Regions from separate parts of the Homo sapiens genome. Here regions 1, 2, 3, 4 and 6 are each linked to region 5. The links are contacts of gene promoters, found by promoter capture Hi-C in human tissues and cell types (Jung and others, 2019). All regions are on one chromosome and are shown on one strand. Each heading gives the region's core, a stretch centred on a gene start or on the middle of the fragment in contact. The rest is flanking DNA. Distances are from core to core; before and after follow the strand shown. Region 1 has its middle 3.7 kb from the start of PARD6G. Region 2 overlaps KCNG2 (potassium voltage-gated channel modifier subfamily G member 2). Region 3 overlaps KCNG2 (potassium voltage-gated channel modifier subfamily G member 2). Region 4 holds the start of HSBP1L1 (heat shock factor binding protein 1 like 1). Region 5 holds the start of ADNP2 (ADNP homeobox 2). Region 6 overlaps KCNG2 (potassium voltage-gated channel modifier subfamily G member 2).

Region 1 (2,777 bases), core at 67-2,566, 140 kb after region 5:
AGGTTGATGAGAGTGAGATCACTTTGTCAATGCCTGTGGCTCAGAGTGTGGTGTAAGGCCCAAAATCTGCTCCACCTGGCACTTGTTAGCAATACCCCACCCAGACCCACTGAATCAGAATCCGCACTTGAACAAGATCCCCAGGTGATTCATGTCCACACTGAAGTTTGAGAGGTGCTGCTCCTTTATCTTAATCATCTGTTGCTCCACAGTTCTTGATTGGCATGATCTGCAGGCAAAAGCAGGAGGAAAGGCTGGGAAAGCTTGCTGTTGCGTGTGGAGCTTGAGTTTCCAGCTGAGACTTGAACTGGATTTGCTAGGGCTTTGAGCTCTAGGTTCAGGCGGGTATAGACCAAAAAAAAATTAACTGAGCCTTCAGCTGGAAAGGCTTTTACACAGTACAGCAGCCAGATTGGAAAAAACAAAAGCCCTCTCCTACCAGACACAGTGGCTCACACCTGTAATCCCAACACACTGGGAGGCTGAGGCTGGAGGATTGCTTGAGGCCAGGAGTTTGAGACTAGCCTAGGCAACATGGTGAAACCCTGTCTCTCCAAAAAAAAAAAAAAATTAGCTGGGCATGGTGGGACACACCTATAGTCCCAGCTACTCAGGCGGCCAAGGTGGGAGAATTGCTTGAGCCCAGGAGGTCGAGGCTGCAGTGGGCTATGATTGTGCCACTGCACTCCAGCCTGGGTGACAGAGAGAGACCTCATCTAAGCAAAAAGAAGGGAGTGGGGGAGGAAAAGGAAAAGAAGAAAGAAAGAGAAAAGAAAGGAGAGAGAGAAAAGACTCCTCAGATCCTGGCCTGATAGCCTGCCTTTTCACACAACTGGGGGTCATGGGAGCCTCTGAGAGGCTGACTTGTTTCAGACAGAAAATGAGAGAGAAAATAGGAATGGGTAGGGGTTAAATCTTCCTCAAATCACGGCTTCTAAGAACCCATCTAATAACTGAACCATCAGGAGCAAAAAGGAAGTATGTTGTGGACCCAGTAAAATGTATTCCTTGACTGGGTGCAGTAGCTCAAGCCTGTAATCCTAGCACTTTGGAAGGCCCCTCTGCAGTGGCTCATGCCTGTAATCCTAGCACTTTGGAAGGCCCCTCTGCAGTGGCTCATGCCTGTAATCCTAGCACTTTGGAAGGCCAAGAGGGGCAGATTGTTTGAGACTGGGGAGGCTGAGGTGGGAGGATTTCTTGAGACTGGAAGGTCGAGTGTGTGGTGAGCTGTGATCATGCCACTGCACTCCAGGGCATAGCAGAGTGAGACCCTGTTGAAAAAAAGATGAGAGCAGGTTCTTTTATGATGAGAGCAGGCTCTTTTATGATGAGAGCAGGCTCTTTTATGATTGAACATTTGTTGCTGATGTATATGTTCTAAGAAAACATTCTCTAAGATAATTTCGTTGGGTAATAGGAAAGCATCGCTGTAATATTTGAACCAGCAGGCTGTTGCATTTGCAATGCATTCTAATATATTTTCGGATGAGGCAGGCAAAGAACTGATATTCGATTGAAATAAGGAAATGGCAGAGTAGTTATGCCTCATTATCACCTGATTCTCATATAAAGGCATCCCTTCTTTTTACCCTTTACTCTTCCCCTGCTCAAAGAGGCCTCTTCTGCCTTTTTTAAAAATTTTCATTTTTGAGATGGAGTTTCATTCTTGTTGCCCAGGCTGGGGTGCAATGGCGCGATCTTGGCCCACTGAAACCTCCGCCTTCCGAGTTCAAGCGATTCTCCTGCCTCAGCCTCCCAAATAGCTAGGACTATAGTCATGTGCCACGACGCCCGGCTAATTTTGCATTTTTAGTAGAGACAGGGTTTCACCATGTTGTCCATGCTGATCTCGAATTCCTGACCTCAGGTGATCCACTCGCCTCGGCCTCCCAAAGTGCTGGGATTATAGGTGTGAGCCACTGTGTCTAGCCTCTTCTGCCTTTTTGATGCAGTAATATCTTGACTCTCAATGGAAGCTTCATGCCTAAATTGACTTACCAGTAGCTCTTTCAGCAGATGGCACCGTTGGCCAGAATAGAATGAATTCCCTGCATTCCAGAGCCATCTGCCCACATCCTACAAAGTGGCCCTGGTTGCATCCCCTAGATTGGTGCAAAGGGCTCTCTCCTCAACCAGCTTGCGGTGTGACCTGCATGTCCACCCCCAGGTGGAAGACAAAAGGCAGGTGGTAAACCTTACGCAGCTGTCTCTGACTTTGCATTAAAACTCTGGGACACTTTTACAAAATACAAATAAAAGCACCTAGAACATGAAGCACAGTCTTTGTTCCAAGTATTACACTAAGCATGGATTAGAGTCTCAGGATCTGTTTTAAAAAGAGTCAGTCCGTAAAGCTTTTCACTGACTTGGTGAATGTATCAGAATGTGATTTTATGGCAGAAAAGCGTGGTCAGTTTTCAGCCACACAGCATCCATTCATCAGCATGATTCATCTCCTCGTGCACACTCCCAAAGCATTTCAGAGGTTCAAAGCAGTTGCAGGCCCTACTGATTTCCTATTAGATGAAACTGCATGCTTTTCCTCTTGTCTATTTCAGCATGGTTTCTTGGTGGTCCAGTTTACGGCCATCTCCAAGATAATGTCTCTGATTCATCAAATTCTGCCATGGTGGCGGCCTGTACCGGGCCCTGGCAATACAAACATTAAGGAAGCACTCATGTCTTCTGGCCTTGAGGTCTTAGCCAAAGCAAGAATCCTGAAGCTAGGTGTGAAGAGTTCATTCACTCTAAATGGATATGCATCAACTCCTTATTCT
Region 2 (2,776 bases), core at 196-2,695, 250 kb before region 5:
TGATATACAAGAGTTTCATTGGAATGAAGTCCAATTTATCTTTTTTTCTTTTGTTGCTTGTGCTTTTGGCATTCTGTTTCAGAAACCAATGTCTCATCCATGGTCATGAAGATGTACAGTCTGTTTTCTTCTACGTGTGTTTTGGAGTTTTAGCTCTTACATTAAGGTCTTTGATCTAGTTTGAATTAGTTTTTATATATAGTGTGATGTAGGCATCTTGGTCCATTCAGTGTTGCTATAAAGGAATACCTGGAGCCAGGTAATTCATTTTAAAAAGAAGCTTGTGATGTCATCATGATTCTGATGTCTGGAAAAGTTCAAGATCAGGCATCTGCATCTGAGGAAGGCCACAGGCAGCTCCAGTCATGGCAGAAGATGGCGTGGAGCTGGTGTGTGCAGAGACCACACGGAGATGGAGGAAGCAAGGGCTAGGGGTGCCAGGCGGGTTCAACAGCCAACTCTGGAGTGAACTCATAGAGCGAGAACTCACTCATTACCATGAAGACACCTCCCAGCCATGCATGAGGGATCAGCCCCCATGACCCAAACCCCTCCCATTAGGCCCCACCTCCGACACTGGGTATCAAATTCCAATATAAGATTTGGAGGCCAATATCCAAACGATAGCAGGGTCCAACTTTATTTTTTTACATGTGGATAACCGTTTGTTGGAGACACTATTACTTCTCCATTGAATAGTCTTGACGACCTTGTCAAAAGTGAACTGACGGTAGATTTATGGGTTCATTTCTGGACTTTCAATTCTGCTCCATTGATTTTTATGTCTCTCTTTACACTAGTACTACACTCTTGATTGCTGTAGCTTTATACTCACTTTGAGTAAGTAGTAATGTACTAGTCCATGTTCGCATTCCTATAAAGGAATACCTGAGACTGGGTAATTTATAAAGAAAAGAGGTTTAATTCGCTCATGGTTCTTCAGGCTGTAAAGGAGGCACGGTGCCAATGTCTGCTAAGCTTCTGGGGAGGCTTTGGGAAGCTTCCAGTTATGGCAGAAAGCAAAGGGGGAGCAGGCACGTTACATGGTGAAAGCAAGAACAAGGTTGCGGGGTAGGTACCACACACTTTTAAACGAACAGATCTCATTTCGACACAAGATTTAGGTGGAGGCATGTAATAAAATGATATCAAGTAAGTTTGAGCCCTCCAACTTTGTCCTTTGTCAAGTTTGTTTTGGCTACCTTGCATTTCCAATAGAATTTTCAACTTGTCAATAGAATGTTCAACTTGTCAATGTCTTCAAAAAAGTTACTGGGATTTTCATATGGATTGGATTGACTCTGTTGATCAATTTAGGGAAGATTGCCATCTTAACAATATTAAGTCTTCCAATACATGAGCATGGAATGTCTTTTCATTTATTTAGTCTTAAAATTTCTTCCACCAATGTTTGTAGTTTTCAGTTTTCAGTGTAGGTTTCAGTTTCCACTCCTTGGTTAAATTTATTTCTAAGTATTTTATTCTTTCTGATGCTCTTATAAATGGAATTTTTTTAACTTCCTTTTCCGATTATTCATTGCTTTTGTATAGAAATACAACTGATTTTTTTTACCGATCTCATGTCTTGCAACTTTGCTGAACCCATTCTCATAGTGATGTGTGTGTGTGTGTGTGCGCATGTGTATGTGTATGTGTGCGTGTGTGTTCTTTAAGGTTTTCTGTACATAAGATCATAAGATCAAGTCATCTCAAAATATAGTTTTACTTTTTTCTTTTGAGTGTGGATGCCTTTTATTTCTTTCTCTTGCCTAATTTTTCTGACTATAATTTCCAGTTCAATGTTAAGTAGAACTGATGAGAGCAGGTATTTCAGTCTTGTTCCTGGTCTTAGGGGAAAGAATCCAGTCTTTCACCGTTGACTATGGAGTTAGCGGTGAGTTTTTCCTACGTGGACCTTGTCATGTGGAGGAAGTTCTCTTTTAGACCTAGTTATTGATTGAGTTTTTTGTTTAATCAGGAAAGGATGTTAGACTTCGTCAAATCCTTTTTCTGCCTCTATTGAAATTATCGCATGATTTTTCCCTTCATCCTATAAATGAGCGTATTATAGTAATTTTGTGTATTGTGCCACCCGTGTATTCCTGTGATAAATCTCTATGGTAAACGATCAAATGGTCATCATGTATAATCCTTTTAATATGAAGCTGGATTTATTTTGCTCATGTCTTGTGGAGGATTTTTGCCTCTGTTTTCTTCTCTCTCTCTCTTTTTTTTTTTTTTTTTTTTTTGAGATGGAGTTCTCACTCTGTTACCCAGGCTGGACTGCAGTGGCGCGATCTCGGCTCACTGAAACCTCCGTTCCCAGGTTCAGGCAATTCTCCCTGCCTCAGCCTCCCGAGTAGCTGGGATTACGGGCACCTGCCACCACACCCCGCTAATTTTTGTATTTTTAGTAGAGACAGGTTTTTGCCATGTTGGCCAGGATGGTCTCAAACTCCTGACCTCAGAGGATCCACCTGCCTCGGCCTCCCAAAGTGCTGGGATTACAGGCATGAGCCACTGTGCCGGGTCTTTGTCTTTAGACAGTTTGTGGTGTGTCAGTGTGGATGTCTTTGAATTTATCTTACTTGGAGTTTGTTGAGTTTCTTAGATGTGTAGATTAATGTTTTTCATCGAATTTGGAGGGTTTTTAAACCATATTTCTTCAAATATTCTTTCTTCCCTGTTCCCTCTTTCCTTTCAGGACTCTCACTATGCAAAAGCTGGTACATGTGATGGTCCCACAGGTCTCTTAGGCTCTGTTCCGTTTTCTTCA
Region 3 (2,841 bases), core at 15-2,514, 230 kb before region 5:
TTCAGTATCCATTCATGATTTTTAAAACAGCACTTTCAGCAATTTAGGAATAGAAGGGAATTTCCTTTTCCTGATAGAGAACATCTACCAAAAAAACCCTACAGCTAACAACATACATAGCAAAAGACTGAATGTTTTCCCGTTAAGATTGGGACCAACCCAAGGATGCCTGCTCCCCACTCCTCTTCAGCACCTGTTGGCAGTCCTAGAGAGAGCAGTGAAGCAAGGAAAGTAGACGTCGTACTATTGGAAAGCAAGAGAATAGAACTGCATATGTAGAAACACGCTGTCCAATTGGAAAGCAAGAGAATAGAACTGCCTATGTAGAAACACACCATATGATTGGAAAGCAAGAGAATAGGACTGCCTATGTAGAAACACGCCGTACGATTGGAAAGCAAGAGAATAGGACTGCCTATGTAGAAACACGCCGTACGATTGGAAAGCAAGAGAACAGGACTGCCTATGTAGAAACACGCCGTATGATTGGAAAGCAAGAGAACAGAACTGCCTATGTAGAAATTCCCAGGAAACCCACAACAAAGCTTAAGAAAATTAAGGGAGTTGCTAGCAGTGAACTATTGGAATTCAAATTTTTTAAAGTTCATTAATAGCACCAAAAACCATGAATTGCTTACATGCAAGTCTCACAGCCTAGGTCCAGGATCCATCTACGTGCTGATAATTACAGCTAAATACAGCTGATAATTACTGATAAAGACTGAAATCAACGAAGGCCTGCAGTGCTCACGCGCTGAAGACTCGGTGTGACTAAGATGTCCACCCTCCCCATAGTCCATCTCCAGATTCAGTGAAATCCCATTCAGAATCCCATTTTCTGCAATATTTACAAGCTGATTGTAACATCTTTATGGAAAGGCCTAGGAACCGTTTTGAAAAAGCAGCAGTTGGAACTGACACTGCCTGCTTTCACGATTTGTTCTGAAGCCACAGCAGGACAGTGTGGGGAAAGGACAGGCGTGGGGTCGTGGACACAGTCCAGGAATAGAACCACATGAATGGGGCCAGCCGGCGTTTGGCAAAGTGAAAAGGCCGGGCACGGAGAAAGAATCGTCTTTTCAACAAATGGGGCTACAACAACTGAACTCCCATATTTTAAAAAAACACAACCCATGCCTTACGTTTTATACAAAAATTCAACTCAAGGTGGACCGTGGCCCTAAACATATAACATTTAAAACTATAAACTTGTAGAAGAAAACATAGAGGTGGCCTTGCCAATGGAGAGTAAGGAAGGAGTTCCCAGACGTGGCGTCAGATACGCGATTCATGAAATATGAAAATGGATAGGCTTCACTTCATTAGAATCTAAAACTCCTGGCCTAGTTGGGGTCTCAGGCCTGTAACCCTAACACTGAGAGGCCGAGGTGGGAAGATCACTTCAGCCCAGGAGTTCACGACCAGCCTGGGCAATATAGCAAGACCCTCATCTCTATTAAAAAAATTCTTTTGACTTTTGTCCACAAAAGACTGTTAAGAGAATGAAAAAACAAGCCTCAGACTGGGAGAAAATATTTGTAAATCACATATCTAACAAAGGACTTGTAATTAAGCTATATAAAGAACTGTATAAACTCAACTGTAAGAAAATAACCTGATTTTAAAAGGGACAAAGTTTTGAACAGACACTTCACCAAAGAAGACACGCCTATGGCAAATACAGCGCTGAACTGTTATTAGGGAAATACAGAGTTAAGCCACAGGAGCTGTCACTCACATGTTAGAAGGGCCCTGATCTAAAAACCAGCCGAGAGCAGCAAGCTCAAAGGAGGGTGCGCGGCCGGCAAGGCTCAGGACCTGCAGGCCATGGAGTGGCGAGGCTGCCATGGAGTGGCGAGGCTGCCGTGGAGCGCGGAGGCCGGGTACACCTGCGCGTGGAGCGCGGAGGCCGGGTACACCTGCGCGTGGAGCGCGGAGGCCGGGTACACCTGCGCGTGGAGCGCGGAGGCCGGGTACACCTGCGCGTGGAGCGCGGAGGCCGGGTACATCTGCGCGTGGCACGCGGAGGCCGGGTACACCTGCGCTCATCGCACACCAGCGCCCACGCCCAGGACGTACTCGCGGGAAGGACAGCGTGTGTCACGTACAGAGCGAGTGTTCAGCCGGCTTTATTCAGCACGGCCTAGCCCGGAAGCAGCCGACACGGACCGCGACGGCCGGTGCCAGATCAATCCCGGTGCATCCACGGTGCGCGGTGAAAAGCAGCAAAGGGTGGGTGCCCGGGACAGCACGAATGGGCTCGCAGGGCCTGACGCGGGAGAGGCCAGGCCAGGAAGCCACGCTGCGATCCCGTCTATGGGATACCTGGGAAAGCCAGGGGTTGGGGGCCAAGACTGGGTGGGCGGGGTCCGGCTGTGAGGCAGGGAACGGCGGGGGGAAGCTGGGGGAGCTGTCCTGCGTCTTTGCGCTGCGTTTTCGCGGTAGTGGTGGTTCCAGGACCGTGATTTGTCCAGACCCATAAAGCTGAGCTCTGATGAGCGAGCAGGTCCTTTTGCATAAATCTTTGGGCTCATTTCTGACGTTCCCTGACAACTCCCCAAAATAGAATTTCTAGGTCAAAGTGCACACAGTCTTTGAAGGCTTTTAAAATATATTAGTGCAGAGTTTTACGAGTTTATACCCTGCCCCGCCTGGACCACCCTGGGCCCCAGAACCTTGGCTGTGGCCGTGACCCAGGGGACACTTGTCTGGTGGGGACAGGGCTGAATTTGTGTGGCTGCTTGGGGACCAACTCAGCAGCTTCTAGTGAACGATGAGGAGGGGCCTGTCTGGCAAAGGTGAAGACATGTCTGTCTGGTAAAGGTGAGGATGTGCTTATAT
Region 4 (2,867 bases), core at 368-2,867, 140 kb before region 5:
TTGTTCCGGAGGCCCGCCTGCTTCGTAGCGTGCGTCAGCGCCTCACTCCTTTGTGTGGCTGAGGAATATTCTATCATCTGCATTTTGTCACCTACTTATTGGGGGTGGACATTTGGGTGGTTTCCACCTTTTGAGCATTACTGATGCTGCAGTAGACTTGGTGCACTCGCGCTGTCGTTTCGGTATATGCCTAGGGGTGGCGCGGCTGGGCCCTGTGGAAACTGCTTCACTTCTGAGGACCCACCCGACTTTTTCACAGCACTGCAGCCTTTCACAGCCCACCGGCTGCGTGGGGGGGGCCACAATCCCCACACGCCTCTCGGACTTACGTTTGTCTCTCTGATTCTAGCCATGCTGGTGGGTTGCAGTGGGAGCTCATTGTGGTTTTGGTTTGTGTTTTCCTGATGACTGGTTGTAATGAGAAAAACCGAGAATCACATTTAAAACCTTACCCTAAAGTGGGAGTTGCTGAGAGACCAAAGAATGACTGGGCGGAGTCCAGCTTGGTGAGTAGGTGAGTTTATTAGGACTCACATGTGGGGCACTCGTGGGCAGCAGGACAACTCTAGAGATGAGCGTGCTTCTGTCCCTAAGCTGCTTTTGAGCTAATTTTCTGCCTCTTTGCGCCGTCTGTGTGATGGGCCTGCTCCCTGTGGTGGTTCTCACATCCCCTCCGGGCTGTTTGGGTTCTCAGGGACACCTGCTCCTCGCTGGGCACCGTGGCCTGGACTCACCGCCTGGCCTTTAGGGTTCAGGCCACAGACATCCGCCCTGAAGTAACCTGGCGGGAACCGCCACGCCACAGCGGTGGTGCTGGGTGGCTGTGTTTTATTTATCCGCACATGGAGACACCAGAGCTTCCAGGTGTGGTCACTGGGCTGTGCCCTAGGGATGCTGGGGTGACCAGACATAGCCCTGTTCCCACAGCGCTGCACAGGGGCACAGACATGGCAACAAGACTGGTAACCCTAAAACACCGTCCTGGGAGGTCACCCACAAGGTGACGAGCCACAACCCAGGTGTGAAAGAGGCCAGGGAAGGCCCGGCGTGGTGGCCCAGGCCTGCGGTCCCAGCACTTTGGGAGGCCGAGGCAGGAGGATCACTTGTGCCCAGGAATTCGAGACCAGCCTGGGCAACATAGTAAGATCCCGTCTCTACAAAAAATAAAAAAGATCAGCCGGACCTGGTGGCGCGCGCCCGTGGTCCCAGCTACTGGCCAGGCCGAGGCAGGAGGATCGCTTGGGCCCGGGAAGTCGAGGCTGCGGGGAGCCATAGTCGCCACTGCACCCCAGCCTGGGCCACAGAGCGAGCCCCCGTCTCTGAGAAACGCAGCAGGGGTGACCGAGGCCCATGCACTGCCCGTGCGGAGCGTTTTGGGGGTGTAGGTGGCCGGTGGCGCCCACGGGCCCTCTTGAGTAAGGCGGCTCCGCCCAGGCCGTCCCGGGGCCTCGGCTCGGCTCGGCTCGGGAAGCCGCAGAGCCTGGGGGCGCGGACCAGTCCTCCGAGGCGGCCGCTCGGTGACATTGCGTCCCTGCAGGTGCAGCGCCCGCCTCTCCGCTCCGGCCCCGCCTCCGCCCTGGAACGCAGCGCGCTCCGCCCGAGGCCTCCCGGCGGCCCATACGGGAATCGCGGAGCTTAGCTGTCGCCACCTCGCGCCGGGTCCGCGCGGCCCACGGGACCCCCCACTGACGCCCCCGGCCAGCGGTCCACATGGACGTGCGGGGCCCTGAAGCCCCCGGCGGGCGCGCGCTGCGGGACGCGGTGAGCCCCTCCCCGACTCCTGCTTCTCTCTGGATGGGGGCGCCCCTGCGGTTCTGGGGGGTTTTGAGGTCCTGGGGGGGGAGCCTGCGGTGCTGGGGGTGCCCTGCGGTCTTCGTGGGGCCCTGAGGTCCTGGGGGGCCTGCGATCCTGAGGACTCCTGTGGTCCTGAGGAGTCCTGAGTGCCTGGGAGGCCTGTGGTCCTGGGGGGGCCCCTGAAGACCTGGGGGACCCTGCGGTCCTGGGGGGGCCTGAGGTGCAGGGGGGAGCCCTGCTGTCCTGGGGGACCCTGCGATCCTCGGGGGGCCTGAGGTCCTGGGGGGAGCCCTGCAGTACTGGGGGGCATTGAGGTCGGGGTCAGTGGGGAAACAACTGGGCCAAAGGGTGCCCGAAAGGGGACCCACGAGTGTCGCAGCGCCCAGGGCTCCGGCCTCTTCCGGGAAATCCTCCCGCTCCCCAGGCCTTCCTACTTGCCAAAGAGTTCCAGGCCCACAAGAGGACTGGCTATGAGGAAGAGACCTGGAATCTGAAGGAATGTGTTGGGCGTTGTGCAAACCCTAACGTAAATTTCCTGACAAAGGTAGAAAGCCCTGGCATGGTTCAGAGGTGGGGCCTCCTCCTATGTCGACGGGATTCTAGATTCACACCATGGTACGTGGGGCTCCCTGGGATCTTGAACCCCCAGCTGGGAGAATTTTGTGCTTCTCAGCCTCACTGTTCTCATCTCACCCTGGACACGGTCGCAGGGTGAGGAGTAGATTACACCGTGAATGGTGTGGGACGTCAGTCTGTAAACTACAAAGCAGTATATAAACAGGAAACGCTTTCAGTAGCAATGGTGGTATTTCTGTGTGACCTGGTAAGTAATTTCATAAGAATTCTTGAGGAGCGCAGGGTCACGAGATTTTCTCCTGCATCCTCCTCTGCATGCTTTATGGCCTTGGCTCTGGGCCAAGGTGTGTGATCTCCTGCATTCATGGTGTGTGGTGTGAGGAGGGGGATGGGTCCCTGCCCCGTCTGCACGTGGCCCTCATGATTCCCGCGCTGCTTGTTGAAAAGACTTTCCTTTCCCTCTGAATCCAAAGGCCTTAGCACCTTTGTCAGAAGTC
Region 5 (2,700 bases), core at 174-2,673:
ACCCATTTACCACTGTAACTCAAAGTAAAATCTTAACTTGTCAGCAAACATAAAGGGCAAACTCTACTTCAATTATGACTTGTATTCATGTAGGAAAAAAGCAAATTTTGGTCAGGTCATATCGGCCCACCATTTAACACAGTTTTAAAACGAATATGGACATTAATTTAGTGCCTATTATGTGTTTAGTCACTGGGCTAAACTGAGCAGAAGGCTCCCATTGAGAGGGAAAAGCTGAAATTATGGACGAGCGGATGGTGACAAGGAGGCTCTGGAGAGGGCGGTGGGCGGAAGGCCCAGCCTGGGCACGGCCTCTGCCCCGCGGTGGCTGGAGTGGGCCTCAGGGCTGGAGGCTGGCGGCGGGTTGCAGGGGCTCGGCGCTCTGGAAGGAGACGTGGCCTTGTGCTGAAAGGGGCACGTGTCCTGCAGACGGCTTCGCCAAGAAGGAACTGCCTGGAACAGCCACTGAGGGCGCGGCTGAGTTAGGGTCAGGGGAAGGAACACTGGAGGGGAGTTAGGGTCAGAGTCAGGGTTAGTGCTAGGTGAGGTTCAGGTGCAGGGTCAGAATTAGGGTTAAGGTTAGGGGCACTGGGGGAGGCGCCTGCGCTGCCCTCGTGGTTACTCCCACGTGCTCTGGGGCACGAGGGCGTCCGCCAGAGGCCTGGGGACTCCACGGAACGAAGACCTAGAGCCATTTTGAAAGCCCTACGCCATGTTTCCACTAATTTTGTGGAATAAATTATTATTGCTACACAATTGATAAACACCTGTGCAAAAATGAACTTTTAGGTTAAGAGTTTATACAAATGTATGCAATTAACCCTCTCCCCACACAACTTGTAGTAGATCTAAAAATCAGAATTCTCAAGAGAAGGTGTGATCACTTTCCCACAGGAATGATGAAGTCAGGAGACCCCAGCTAGTCGGTTCACCAGGATATGCCAATCATGGCACACTTGTCCCAGTTCTGGGAGCCAAAGTTTTGTCTTCCAATGGCAAGGCAGCATTATCACAGTTGGGCTCCCATTGGCTCTGAGATGTGGGCGGGGTCACCACTCCTGGAGCTGCCACTAGCTCCACCCCATTCCATGCAAATGAAGTCAAAGCTGTGGTGAGTCCACGTGATTAGTCACATGGTTGATGACACACTCTCCCCACCCCTTTAGTGACGTCATTGCCCACTCAAACTCTCACGAGAGTTTGCACAGATGTGGAAAGGAGCTGGCAGGGCAGTTCCCTGGGACAGAAGGGAGTCAGGGGGTCCAACAGGGGCCCCCCACTGCCACCCCAGAGCCTCCAGTCCATCTTTAGCCAGGGGCCCCGGGGGGCCTGTGGGAAGTGCCAGGGGCCCCCAAGCACACTCTGCTCTCATTGGCTGGCTGCGCCTACATGCAAATGAGGGCCAACGTCACTTCCTGAGGCCAATCGAGCGCCATTTTCTCTTTCTGGCTGCGCGGGAGGAGGGGACCAGTCGCGCTGGGGGTGGGCGCGCGCTGAGGCGGGGGTCCCGCCGCGCGGGGCGGAGGCGCGGGCGGGCGCAGGCGGCCCCACGGGACGCGGCTGCGCTCGGCGGAAGACGCGGCAGCCCTGCGAGAGGCAGCAGCGGAGACGCGGTGCTCCTCGGGCGCCAAGCGGTAGGTACGGCCCGGCCCGGCGCGGGCCCGCGCGGCGACGCCCCCTGCCCCGGTCCTGGCCCCCGCCCCAGTCTGGTCCCCTCCGAGCCCCGCCCCCGCCGGTACCCAGCCCACACCCACGCCCGCCGCCTGCCCTCGCGCCGCCCGTGGCCGCCTCGGGAATCCCGGGACGTTCTCAGGGCGCGGGTTCGCGGCCCGAACGGCGCCCGTCGACCCCCGACGCGCCCGCGGCCCGCCCCGCCCGCCGCCGGTCACGTGGGAGCGGGGGCCGCCCCGGGAGGGCGGAGAAGGGGATGGGGACCTGAGGGGAGAGTAGGAATAGGGGAAAGACGAGGACGGGGACCGAGGGAGAGAGGGGGGCTGGTGAAGGGAGCGAGGAGTAGAGGGAGAGGGAACGGGGATGGAGAAGAAGAGAGGGGGCAAGGAGCTGTGGCGACCCCTGTAAGGACTCCAGAAACGCCCCGCCCGCTGGCCCGCCCGCCGCATCCCCGAGACCGGGTTCTCCTGGAAGCTTCTCTCTGGAGGAGCCTTGAGTGACGGCAGATGTAGGTCAGGAGCTGACGGTGACACCTAAATCTGCCCAGGTTTTTTTTTCCCTAGAAAGGTTTGAAGAACAGCTGATAACGGGGCCCTGTTTCTTCATCGTTGAGCTTTTGATGCGAATATCAATAATTGATATACAGATGTTGACTTTAACATTACTTTTCATCTGCCGTTGCTGGTTGCATTGAAATAGATTCCGTTTACAAAATTTCTACTACAGTTGACTTTGGAATGTTAATTTTAACTGCCCTTTTAAATACTGTACAGATGCAGAATGAGAAATAATTAGATATTTTAAGTAGTTTATTTGAACAGAAGACTTGCCTGCGTGCTTAAAACTTACTCTATTTGCACGGGTAATCACTGCCTCTTGGGATCTTGAGGAATATACTGGCTGTGGAGGAGTGGGGTGGGGGAGGAGAAACTGGTAAGCAGGTAACTGACAATGCAGATTGGCAAGTGGGGCAGCAGTTTGTAGAGTACTGTGGGCATCTGCCACGCAGAGCCTTTATCAAAAGAGGGG
Region 6 (2,700 bases), core at 97-2,596, 210 kb before region 5:
TAGCCAGCGTGCAGTCTAGGCTACGTGGTCAGCACACGCATGAATCCTAATTCCCTTCACCACCACCTCCAATAGCGTTGAGAGTGCCCTTCGGTGTAAACTTCTTCATGTTCCATTGCAAAGGAAGTCAGTTCCTTTGAGAAGAGATTACTTCCTTCATCTCCCTCCAGGCAGGAATCTCTGAGCCAGGGATTTGGGGGATGGGGACAGCTGCGAGCCTCAGTGTGAATGACACCCTCCCTCTCTAGGAGCTGAGAGCTTGATAGCACCCTGAGACCCCATTGGCCTCTCCTGGCCTGGAATCACTGCAGCAAGGGCAGTCAGGCCCTGCCTTCTCAGTGTGCCACACCCAAGGCCAGCCTCCCACCCACGAGAGTGGGGACTGGGCAGGAGGAGGGAGCCCCACCCCTCCACCGGACTCCCCAAGGACGTAGCCCCAGGAGCTGAGGGCGGAATGTGAGATGCTGATGTCAGCCCTTTCTAGGGAAGAAGCCCTCCTGACTGGGAGCTGTGGGTGGGGTGGAGGTGGGGGTGGGGGTCTGTGTTCGTGGCTGCAGCCATTCCACGTGGCGTCTCCCCCTGGCCAAGCTGAGAAGGAGGATGCAGTCTTGACACAGATACCACAAATGCTCACCTTTCTTCCAGAATTTTCACATATAAATAGATGTTTCTTCGTTTGCTGTTTGCTCTTAAGACCATTTCCCAAGGCTTTAAAAGGTCAGGGGTTTTAACATTATTTTCACCAGTTTCCTGGGTCAGCTAAGCGCATCCGCTCTCAAGCCCGAAGTGATCACCATGAAATCTTGCTGGTTTTCTGGGTTTTTCCAACAGGAACTGGGCCTGTCAATATCCCCTGCACCCGCTTCCGTGGGTTGGGGCGGGAAGGGTGGCCTGGGGGACGCCTCTGGTCCTGGGAAAGGAAGGGCAAGGCGCCCCCGGCCCTCCAAGAGGCCTGCGCCCCCAACCCCGTGTCCCCTCTCCCCGCAGGGCGAGTGCTCCCCCAAGTGCCGCAGCCTGTTCGTGCTGGAGACCGTGTGCGTGGCCTGGTTCTCCTTCGAGTTCCTGCTGCGCTCCCTGCAGGCCGAGAGCAAGTGCGCCTTCCTGCGCGCGCCACTCAACATCATTGACATCCTGGCGCTCCTGCCGTTCTACGTGTCGCTGCTGCTGGGGCTGGCGGCAGGCCCGGGCGGGACCAAGCTCCTGGAGCGCGCGGGGCTGGTGCTGCGGCTGCTGCGTGCGCTGCGCGTGCTCTACGTGATGCGCCTGGCGCGCCACTCGCTGGGGCTGCGTTCGCTGGGCCTGACCATGCGCCGCTGCGCGCGCGAGTTCGGGCTGCTGCTGCTGTTCCTCTGCGTGGCCATGGCGCTCTTCGCGCCACTGGTGCACCTGGCCGAGCGCGAGCTGGGCGCGCGCCGCGACTTCTCCAGCGTGCCCGCCAGCTATTGGTGGGCCGTCATCTCCATGACCACCGTGGGCTACGGCGACATGGTCCCGCGCAGCCTGCCCGGGCAGGTGGTGGCGCTCAGCAGCATCCTCAGCGGCATCCTGCTCATGGCCTTCCCGGTCACCTCCATCTTCCACACCTTTTCGCGCTCCTACTCCGAGCTCAAGGAGCAGCAGCAGCGCGCGGCCAGCCCCGAGCCGGCCCTGCAGGAGGACAGCACGCACTCGGCCACAGCCACCGAGGACAGCTCGCAGGGCCCCGACAGCGCGGGCCTGGCCGACGACTCCGCGGATGCGCTGTGGGTGCGGGCAGGGCGCTGACGCCTGCGCCGCCCACACGGAGACCCCCTGCCCCCTCCAGCTGCAGCGTCGGGACCCCCGAGGTGCGCCAAGGGGTGGGGGGCGTCTGGCCTGGGGGAGCGGCTCCTGCCGGCCGCGTCCTCGGCCCTCGTGCGTGAGCAGCCCCAGAACTTGGCGGGGCCCTGCCTGACTCCCCGTGGCAGCGCTGGGCAAAGTCACTGGCCTTTGTCCTCCTGCCCCACCCCTTTCCTTGGATTTTTAATTTTCTACGCCTAGCTAAAAATAAATTTAGTAAGTCCGAGAGATTCCACGCCTGCTGTGGATGACTTCATCCCCCTGCCTCCAGCCAGGGAGGAGGGAGCACGGCCCCTGCCAAGCCCCCATGGCATCCGGAATGGGCAGGTCCCTGCAGAAGGAGGCCCTCCGCATCCACCTCTGCCCAAGGCCACATCACCTTCCCAGGGATGGGACAGAGGTTTGAGCCAATGCTCACAGCACCCCCAGTGCCACCGCAGTAACCGCCCTTTCGGGGGTCGGGGAAGAGGGTTCCAGCCCTGACCTCTAACCTCCATCCCCTGACACCACCTCCCTAGGGAATCTTTAAGGCTTGACCTCCGGGAGGGTGACAAGGGCCTCCTGACACTCCCTCTGCACAAGGTTGCGTGTGGCATTGCAACCCCTCCATGGCCTTGTTCTTCTGGGATCCTCCTGTCCCAGAACATGGCCTTGTTCTTCTGGAAGGAACTTTCGACATCGCGCTGCTCTATGCTTCATTTTAATGAGTTCATCCAGGAAACCTGAGACATGGTGGCCGCAGCCCGAAGCAGGAGGGGGACACCTCACCAGAGGGTCCCACTGTCCATTACACGGCAGCAGGAGTCTGTAGGGGACGCAGGTGTGGAGAAAGGGCAGGAGACGTGCATGGCCCCGGTGAGTGGCTGAGTGCAAGCCCCAGCC

What was found. The method cuts DNA at HindIII sites, captures the fragments that hold promoters and counts their contacts. A contact is called where the count stands out against the background at its distance.
Region 1: a contact is called between a fragment that was not itself captured here and the fragment with the promoter of ADNP2 in region 5, in 10 of the 25 tissues and cell types used here (IMR-90 fibroblasts, adrenal gland, aorta and 7 more).
Region 2: a fragment that was not itself captured here is called in contact with the fragment with the promoter of ADNP2 in region 5 in 7 of the 25 tissues and cell types used here (H1 embryonic stem cells, IMR-90 fibroblasts, hippocampus and 4 more).
Region 3: a fragment that was not itself captured here is called in contact with the fragment with the promoter of ADNP2 in region 5 in 4 of the 25 tissues and cell types used here (IMR-90 fibroblasts, aorta, lymphoblastoid cells and 1 more).
Region 4: the fragment with the promoter of HSBP1L1 here is called in contact with the fragment with the promoter of ADNP2 in region 5 in 5 of the 25 tissues and cell types used here (IMR-90 fibroblasts, adrenal gland, lymphoblastoid cells and 2 more).
Region 6: a fragment that was not itself captured here is called in contact with the fragment with the promoter of ADNP2 in region 5 in 2 of the 25 tissues and cell types used here (IMR-90 fibroblasts and lymphoblastoid cells).

What each region holds. Positions count from the first base shown.
Region 1 is chr18:80,249,836-80,252,612 of GRCh38, forward strand. No RefSeq gene overlaps it. Among named protein-coding and RNA genes, the nearest start is that of PARD6G, 3.7 kb to the left of the region's middle. The HindIII fragment of the contact is 3,076 bases long and covers 1-2,777 here.
Region 2 is chr18:79,859,047-79,861,822 of GRCh38, forward strand. All of the region lies in intron 2 of KCNG2 (potassium voltage-gated channel modifier subfamily G member 2), which reads left to right. Among named protein-coding and RNA genes, the nearest start is that of KCNG2, 62 kb to the left of the region's middle. The HindIII fragment of the contact is 4,051 bases long and covers 1-2,776 here.
Region 3 is chr18:79,880,890-79,883,730 of GRCh38, forward strand. All of the region lies in intron 3 of KCNG2 (potassium voltage-gated channel modifier subfamily G member 2), which reads left to right. Among named protein-coding and RNA genes, the nearest start is that of SLC66A2, 69 kb to the right of the region's middle. The HindIII fragment of the contact is 7,076 bases long and covers 1-2,841 here.
Region 4 is chr18:79,963,026-79,965,892 of GRCh38, forward strand. HSBP1L1 (heat shock factor binding protein 1 like 1) reads left to right here and starts at 1,618. Exons shown (of 4, transcript NM_001136180.2): 1 at 1,618-1,761. The coding sequence starts at 1,711. RefSeq lists an enhancer at 100-179 and a silencer at 1,275-1,844. The HindIII fragment of the contact is 12,330 bases long and covers 1-2,867 here.
Region 5 is chr18:80,107,839-80,110,538 of GRCh38, forward strand. ADNP2 (ADNP homeobox 2) reads left to right here and starts at 1,424. Exons shown (of 4, transcript NM_014913.4): 1 at 1,424-1,634. RefSeq lists enhancers at 1-348, 1,175-1,676 and silencers at 1,486-1,645, 1,846-1,945. The HindIII fragment of the contact is 8,526 bases long and covers 1-2,700 here.
Region 6 is chr18:79,898,053-79,900,752 of GRCh38, forward strand. KCNG2 (potassium voltage-gated channel modifier subfamily G member 2) reads left to right here. Exons shown (of 4, transcript NM_012283.2): 4 at 988-2,048. The coding sequence ends at 1,764. Among named protein-coding and RNA genes, the nearest start is that of SLC66A2, 52 kb to the right of the region's middle. RefSeq lists silencers at 1,237-1,531, 2,497-2,700. The HindIII fragment of the contact is 4,873 bases long and covers 1-2,700 here.